Linked DNA regions of Homo sapiens: regions 1 and 2 are each linked to region 3. The links are contacts of gene promoters, found by promoter capture Hi-C in blood cells and fetal thymus (Javierre and others, 2016). All regions are on one chromosome and are shown on one strand. The core of a region is centred on a gene start or on the middle of the fragment in contact, and the rest is flanking DNA. Distances in the headings are between cores, read along the strand shown.

Region 1 (2,761 bases), core at 67-2,566, 830 kb after region 3:
ATATATACACGTGTATATATACACATATATAATTTAGTATATGTAATATATAGATTATATATTCTATCTATGTGTGTATACATAGGTATATATACATATATAACTTAGTACATATTCTAGTATAATATATAGATATATATTCTATCTACCTATCTAGGTGTGTATACATAAGTGTATATATACATGTGTATATATACACATATATAACAGTATATATAATTTATAGATTATATATTCTATCTATCTATCTATCTATCTATCTATCTATCTATCTATCTACCTGTCTATCTATCATCTCTGTCTCTCTCTCTCTATCCATCTATCTTTTAGCAGAATTTTGTCTCTGCAAAGTTCAGGATCAGCAATAGAGACCCTTAAGCTAACATGAAATATGTACAAGGCTGATGGCCACTTTACCCTGCAGGATGAGAGAGTGAAAAGGAGCTGGCCTTTTCAAAACGGCAGGAGAATAGCCTGAGGCTGGCTAATTTCGGCAATCAAGCTGGTGGCAGTTTATCTATAAACATGAGGCTATGAGGCCAGCATGCATGGGTTTTTTTTGTTGTTGTTGTTGTCAAAAAGATGCTTAAGGAAGAAAAGGGAGAAGGAGGAGGAGAAAGAAGTGAAAAAACAAACAATATTTACTAAAGCTGAACTTATGCATAGCCTATGACCTAGCAATTCTATTCCTAGGTGCTCACCCAACAGAAATAGGAACATGTGATCACCTAAAAAGAGGAGTATTTATTTATAGCAGTGCTATTTGTAATAGACCTGAACTGGAAGCTTCCCATTGACATTAATAGTGGAAGGAATAAAGTAATCAGAAATATTAATCAAATGGAATATGATCCAGCAATGAGAATAAACAATTTACTACTGTATGCAACAGATGGATAAATCTCACAATCATATTGTTGAAAAAAGAAGCAAGACACAAAAACATGTAAGCTGTCTGAGTCCATTTATACAAAGTTCAAAAGCAGATCAAACAAATCTGTGCTGGGAGAAGTCCAGGTGTGATACCCTACCTTGTTTTAACCTGATTGACTCTCTCTTATCTGAGAGAGCAGGACAGACTCCACTTTGGTTTCTTCGCTTGCAGCCCCTCGTTCCCCCTGCTTAAGGACATAACTGGTGCAAGCTAACTCCAAGTACATCCAGGAATTGCTTACTGATAAGATACTGAGGCAAGCTGTACTACCCACTCCTGGAAACGTGCTTGGTTGATGGTACCCAAAGCCCCTGCGTTTATCACTTTGTGATAGCTTAAGCCCCTGCACCTGGAACTTTTTATTTTCCTGTAACAGTTTCTGTAACCATTTATCTTTTACTTTTTGCCTGTTCTGCTTTTGTAAAAATTGCTTCAGCTAGACTCCCCCTCCCCTATTTAGACCAAGGTATAAAAAGAAATCTAGCCCCTTCTTCGGGGCTGAGAGAATTTTTGAGCTCTAGTCGTCTCTCGGTCCCCGGCAATAAAGGACTCCTGAATTAGTCTCAAAGTGTGGTGTTTCTCTATAACTCGCTCGGTTACAACACAGGTAGTGCTGACCTTTGTTGCGGGGGTGGGGAAGGTTTGAAAGAGCAGGTAGGGAGTTGCCAGGTACAGGTAATTGTCTATTGCTTAATCAGGTGATGGGTCAGTTGATTAAAATTTGTTGAGTGGTATGCAACGAATATGTGCAACTTTCTGCACTTCAATAAAAAAAAATTCTTAAATGAAAAAAAAAGGACACCTCAACTGAAGATGAGAATGTCTTAGCAGGCATTATCCCCTTGTCACTCCCTGAATCCATGGACAGCAGACCAGATTCTGGGGCCCAAAGTAGAAGGACAGGAACCTGAATGAAGCTTACTCCTTCTCTGGGTGATCACATAATGCCTTAGAAAACAAATGAAAAGGGAGACTGTCTGCATGCCACATGCAAAGTCCTGTAGGGGAGAATAGGCCAAGGATGATGTGGCGTGGTGTGGGATGGCAGAGAGATAGGGACAGGAATTCTGTGGGCAATGCTGGCACTGACTGACAGTGTGTTTTACCTAGAAGGGGCTTTGTTCATCATGCCATATGACCCTCTAACCTTATATTTGGAGAGCAGAAGCCACAATCTACTGAAATAATCTGCCTGAAGCTTTATATTTACTATCTCAAGTCTTTGTATTGATTGAAGACCTTTCAGTTATTTGGCCTACAAAGTGACTCACCAAGACAGCCAAGTATAAAGGGGTCCCCGGAGAAATTCCAACTGGCCTGTGCACTGTGAGGAGTGTGCACTGGGGCGGAGCCTCAGGAAGTTTGCGCCATTTGCAGGGGAGGAAGAGCCTGGCTGGCCTCTCCTGATCCAGTGTGATAACCTGGGGACTCAGTCTGTGAGATGGGGAGCCTCTCTCACTTTGCTGAGTTTTTTTCCTTTTCACCCAATAAAACACTACCCTCCTCACCCTTCAAACTGTCTGTGAGATTAATTTTTCTTGGTCATGTGGCAAGGACGCTGTCTTTAGCTCAACTAAGGAAAAAGTCCTACAACAGCTTTGGTGCCCAGAACATAGGGCTTGAGAAGGGGTGAGTGAAATGGGGACTCAAAACCTCTCACATTCGCTTCTGAGCCTTTTGGTCCTATGGCATTCCTCTTCTTTTTTTCAGGACATTAATGACATGAAAACTTTTTTTTTTTTTACAATACTGGAGGTGGTTCACACACACCCCAATGGCCACAGGCATGTGTATGGGACAGTTGGGTGGGGCAGCTCCCTGCTCCCC
Region 2 (2,843 bases), core at 308-2,807, 810 kb after region 3:
GTGTACACATTATATACACACACATATACATATATGGTCTGTGGCCTGTCAGTATGTGTGTGTATATATATGTATGTGTATGTGTATATATATATGTATGTGTATGTGTATATATATATATATACACACACACATATATACACACACACACACATATATATATATGGTCTGTGGCCTGTCAGTATGTGTGTATATATATATGTATGTGTATGTGTATATATATATATGTATGTGTATGTGTGTATATATATATATACACACACATATATACACACACACAGGCTTTATATGATAAGGCTTTATATACAAAGCTTCATTATTATTATACATATATACAGGTATCATTATACACGTATGTATGATTGTGTGTGTGTGTGTATATATATATATGTATAAAGCCTCATTATCAAGAGATATAGCAAGAACACTGGATATAATAAGACTGAGCTCACTAAAGCAAAAGGAGTCAACTGCTTAACTAGGCAAATTTTGAAAATTTCCTTCCAAATCAGTAAAAAGAGGCCCAAGACTCCATAACCAGAAATTCTGATGTTGTATTGCTTGCAACAATTAGAATAAGACGAGATCTCAAATGTATGCTACAGAGCAAGGGTCCTCAACCCCCGGGACCATGGATCCATACTGGTCTGTGGCCTGTCAGGAACAGGCCTCACAGCAAGAGGTGAGCCGTGGGTGGGTGAGCATTACCGCCTGTGCTCCACGCCTCCAGTCAGATCAGTGGGGCCATTGGATTCTCATAGGAGCATGAACCCTATTGTGAACGGCGGATCTAGGTTGCCGGCTACTTATAAGAATCTAGTGCCTGGCGATCTGAGGTGGGAACAGTTTCACCCCAAAACCATCCCCTCCCCAAACCCACTTCCACGGAAAAATTGTCTTCCACGATACTACTCCCTGGTGCCAAAAAGGTTGGGAGCCACTGCTATAGAGGGTTCTCCAAAAGACAGAAAATATTTGTATCAAAAAAAATGACTTTGCCCATGCAGGAGTAGAAAGTACTTAAAATATTGCCTCATTTTAATTCTGAAATCATTTGTTTGAGGTAGCACTTCTAGGCCTCATCTTTTTTTGCCAGAACAATGTCCAAAACCATCAGCGAGATTGAGCTAATGGGCCAGGTGCGGTACCTTATGCCTAGCACTTTGGGAGGCTGAGGCGGGCAGATCACTTGGGGTCAGGAGTTTGAGACCAGCCTGGCCAACATGGTGAAACCCTGTCTCTACCAAAATTACAAAAGCAAATGTATCCAGGCACGGCAGTGCACACCTGTAGTCCCAGCTACTCGGGAGGCTAGGCAGGAGAATCACTTGAACCCGGGAGGCAGAGGCTGCAGTGAGCTGAGACCGCACCACTGCACACCAGCCTGGGCAACAGAGCAAGGCTACATCTCAAAAAAAAAAATTGAGCTAATGAGTGTGAAAGTACTTTGCAAATTCCAAATTACTTTGTATAAGTTAGTTAGTCCTATTTCTCTTGTGCTTTGAGATTCTGACATCGTATCCTGTGGTTCATAATAACTAGATAGCTCTAGTAATTCAAAGCTACATAAAACGTGGTTATTAAGTGAAATCATTAGAAATGTGTCCAGAAAAAAATTGCATTTTCTGAAGGACAGAAAATACACGTATATCTCTCTTGGAGAGTTTCAAGTAAGGGCTGCCTTAGGGTCCCCTATTAATGAGGCCATCTCTGACCCCTTAGGTGTGGATGTTCAGTTGTTACAATGTTTCTAACACTACTCTATTAAAAAGGCCAAAAACTAACTGCACAACAGATGGGCAAGTGCCCATTATGGGCCTGCCCTGTCAGTGCACTCTGCTGCAGCTGTGGTTGGACTTGCTCCCTTGGCAATTCCTGGGCTCACAGTGGTCAGTGAAATACTTAGGCAGGACGTGGAAGGTCCTAAGGTGCTGTGACAATGCTCCAGCCTCTACTCTTGTGTCTGGATGTGAGAGGATATGGCATAGACAGCTGAAAGCCTCAGAAGACAGGTGGAGTCCAGGAAATTCCATTTGCAGCTATCTTTATCAGGGTGAGCTGCAATTGTTTGCTGTGATAGTGAGCTGAAAGCAACAGTTCTATCAGATTATTTTTTAGAGATGACTAAAGTACACTATAGAAAGGAAGTGCTCAAGATCTGTTTGCTGATGTATTGCTTGCTTCATAAAGCTACCTATTAAGAAAGACACAAAATAACGAAATAATAGCCTAAACAATGTTAAAATAGGAAGATAGAAATAGGACTTTCTCTTTCTCATTTCTAAAGTGTGTATAGAGTTCTCTTATTCTCTCTATAGCATTCAGATACCCACTGGGAAGAAAACAAAAACAAAACCAGAAACCATCATAGATATTTCACAATGAGAAAGTTTGTTACAGGGAATTGGTTTCACCAATAATGGGAAAGCTGAGAAGCCAAATAAGGAGCAGCGAGAAACAACCCAGTGCTTAGCAATACAATAGCAGCAAGCTGCTACCACCTTAGGGCTGGAAGGAAGCTGGAGTTGCAGGGTCTGATGAGCCAGAGCTGTACAGCAGGAGTTACCATAGTCAGTACTTCTGGCAGCAACTGGAGCCAGAAGTTTAATTTCCTTATATGGTAAAGCAGAGGTTGTATTGTGCGATTACCTTGACTAAGAACTATCCTCTGACAGAGTTTCCAGGTTACCTCTCTCTCTTTCTGGATGTTCTTGATAGAGACAGAATCCAGTTATATTTTCTCCACTTTGCTAGATGATGTTATGGCCATCTATCTTTTACAAATAAATGCTAGTTAATTATTTAAGCTTTAGCAGTAAGCCTGTTCTCAGATCTAATTAAAC
Region 3 (2,751 bases), core at 1-2,500:
TAAGACTCTTCATGATCTAGCCCCAGTAAAACACTCTACAGTCTCCCCACCCAATATTTTTTTCACCGTATCCCTTCCATCTGGCCAGGCTGAGTCCTGGCAGCCACGACCCCCTATGGATCATGCTGGTTTAAATCTCCTGGGTTGCTCATGTTATTCCTGCTCCTACAAAGATCTCCATCTTCTTGTCTACCTAAAGAAAACCTACTCATCTGTGTGCAATCACCATAAAGACTTATCTCTCTTCTGCAGCCTTTCCTGCAATTTCCATACCTCTGGCACGGACAATCACCTTTTAAAAATACCCCATATAAATTTATCATAGCCTCTACAGTATTTTGATTACACTTAACTAATTACATGACTTCTCTTTTAGTCTTCTTCTCTAATCTCTTGAGGCCATGGACCATATCCCATTATTTTGAATCCCAAATGCCTAGTACTGTTCTTGGTATATGGTTAAGATGATCATACGACTTGGTTTGTGCCTGTTGACCTGGCTTAATAATTACACCCTCTTTACTCTCAAAAGTATCTTGGTTTGGCAGATAAATTATATTTGGTCATTCTCCACATAGTATATGCCTGGCAATAAATGAATGAATGAGCACCAGCATCTGAGCACTTATTACCATACAATATATACATGTATAGTAATACTTTTTAAAAAAGTTGTATATGATGATGTGCTGCTTTTTTGCTTAGCTTCATTAGAACTGGCCAGCTCCTTTTTCTCACTTGCCAAGCATGGGGAGTTGGTTTGGAGTTGGTGTTTCATCTTTTCCAGTTACAGTGTGAAAGTAGCCCACCAGCCCACGCTCTTATTCCTAAAGACCGCAGTGACTCCACGGACTTAAGTTCTCATTGCTTCCAGTTTCCTTGGGCAACGCAGCACGCAATTTTGGACGCGCTGCGTGGTTTCAGAGTCGGCTGTAACTTTTCTCACTTTATAATCATCAGGAAAAGTTCCTGATGCCAGTCTTCCAAACGCTCAATGAAATAAAAACCAGATAGCACCGCAGAGGAGGCTGAGATGCAACGACAAAAGCTGTCGTAATTATTAATAATACCTAACCCTGGATCACTCCCCTGATAGATCTGTATCTTTGCAGCAGGCGCAATTCAGTTTGGATTCACCCAAAACAAAAATGGTCTCCGTCGGAGTCAACGCCCTTTCCTGTGCGGACCAATCAGAATCTCAAACACAGGGCACGGGGCCCACACTTCCGTCCGGTCTGCCTGGTCTCTCTAACCGCGCCAGTGTGCCTCCGACTCGGAACGGCTTCCGCGGCCGGGGCAGCGAGGGCCGGGGGCGGCGGGCGGGATGAGTGCGGTGTGCGGTGGAGCGGCGCGGATGCTGCGGACGCCGGGACGCCACGGCTACGCCGCCGAGTTCTCCCCGTACCTGCCGGGCCGCCTGGCCTGCGCCACCGCGCAGCACTACGGCATCGCGGGTGAGGCGGCGCCGCGCAGCTGGGGCCGGGGGGCGGAGGCGGAGGCGGGGGCCAGCCGGGCTCCAGTTCCTCGCGCTCGAGGGAAAGCCCCTCTGAGCGTAGACGGTTCCGCGGGTCCACGCCAGGGGGCAGAAGAGGCGCTGGTCGGCGCTTCTCCTTTCTTTGCCGAGTGCGAGGAGTTGGTCTGAAGCAGGAGTCGATCTTCCAGTTGTGTGCAAGTGCATATACGTGTAGCCTAGTAGCCCGTGTCCTTGTTCCTTGAGACCGCGCTGCCTCCGCCACGTGTCACACGCCCAGGCACACGTCCCCGTAGGGAGAGCCGGGGGAGCCTGCGCGGTCCCTTGGATCGGTCCGCTCGGCACAGCAGTACGGGGAAGACGGTCTGAGCCAGAACCGACCCAGGGCTCGCGAGTTGGCCCACAATTCCCAGTCTGCATTCGAGCACTGAGCTGCGACCTGCGGGCTGGCCTTCCTAAGGACGATGCTCCTGAATGGACGCCTGGAGTCCCACGGGTGACACCATGAAATATATCAAGTTCAGTTCTTACCTGTAGTTGTCTAACGAGGAATGCACACATTCGCAAGTAGGTGTTACAGACTCCAGTTAATTGTCTCCCGTCGCGCGCATTGGCTCAGCCTGTGGTTAAAGCTGCTCAGGAGGCTGAGGCGGGAGGATCGCTTGAGCCCGGGATGTTGAGGCTACAATGAGCTGAGATCACATCACTCTGCCCCAGCCCAGTGAGCTGAGATCACATCACTCCACTCCAGCCTGGGTGACAGACTGAGACCCCGTCTTAAAAAGAAAAAAGGCCAAGCGCCGTGCGGTGGCTCACGTCTGTAATCCCAGCACTTTGGGAGGCCGAGGTGGGCGGATCACTTGAGTTCGGGAGTTCCAGACCAGCCTGACCAACATGGAGAAACCCCATCTCTACTGAAAATACAAAATTAGCCGGGCGTGGTGGCGCATGCCTGTAATCCCAGCTACTCGGGAGGCTGAGGTAAGAGAATAGTTTGAACCCAGGAGGCAGAGGTTGCGGTGAGCCGAGATCGTGCCATTGCACTCCAGCCTGGGCAAGAAGAGCAAAACTCCGTCTCAAAAAAAAGAGTCCATCTAGTCCGTGGACTAGATGAAAAGGCGTAGGTTCATTCTCGCTTTTGCCTTAATTCATGTCCTAGCTATTATACGCACTGAAGCGAGATGCAAAAACTCATTTCATAATGTCAGTGGTCTATTGTATTTTTTTGTTTTGTCCTACAGCAGAAAAAAATGTTACTTCTAAAACTCAGAGAAATACTT

Evidence for each region. The method cuts DNA at HindIII sites, captures the fragments that hold promoters and counts their contacts. A CHiCAGO score of 5 or more calls a contact.
Region 1: a fragment that was not itself captured here is called in contact with the fragment with the promoter of PEX7 in region 3 in 3 of 17 cell types (M2 macrophages, naive B cells and total B cells); the score reaches 5.5 in M2 macrophages.
Region 2: a fragment that was not itself captured here is called in contact with the fragment with the promoter of PEX7 in region 3 in 1 of 17 cell types (M2 macrophages); the score reaches 5.4 in M2 macrophages.

What each region holds. Positions count from the first base shown.
Region 1 is chr6:137,650,205-137,652,965 of GRCh38, forward strand. No RefSeq gene overlaps it. Among named protein-coding and RNA genes, the nearest start is that of LINC03004, 14 kb to the right of the region's middle. RefSeq lists enhancers at 522-691, 2,741-2,761. The HindIII fragment of the contact is 1,065 bases long and covers 785-1,849 here.
Region 2 is chr6:137,628,954-137,631,796 of GRCh38, forward strand. No RefSeq gene overlaps it. Among named protein-coding and RNA genes, the nearest start is that of LINC03004, 35 kb to the right of the region's middle. The HindIII fragment of the contact is 2,496 bases long and covers 310-2,805 here.
Region 3 is chr6:136,821,342-136,824,092 of GRCh38, forward strand. PEX7 (peroxisomal biogenesis factor 7) reads left to right here and starts at 1,251. Exons shown (of 10, transcript NM_000288.4): 1 at 1,251-1,454. The coding sequence starts at 1,325. RefSeq lists enhancers at 822-971, 855-1,587, 1,588-2,320, 1,702-1,861 and a silencer at 1,152-1,531. The HindIII fragment of the contact is 4,798 bases long and covers 1-2,751 here.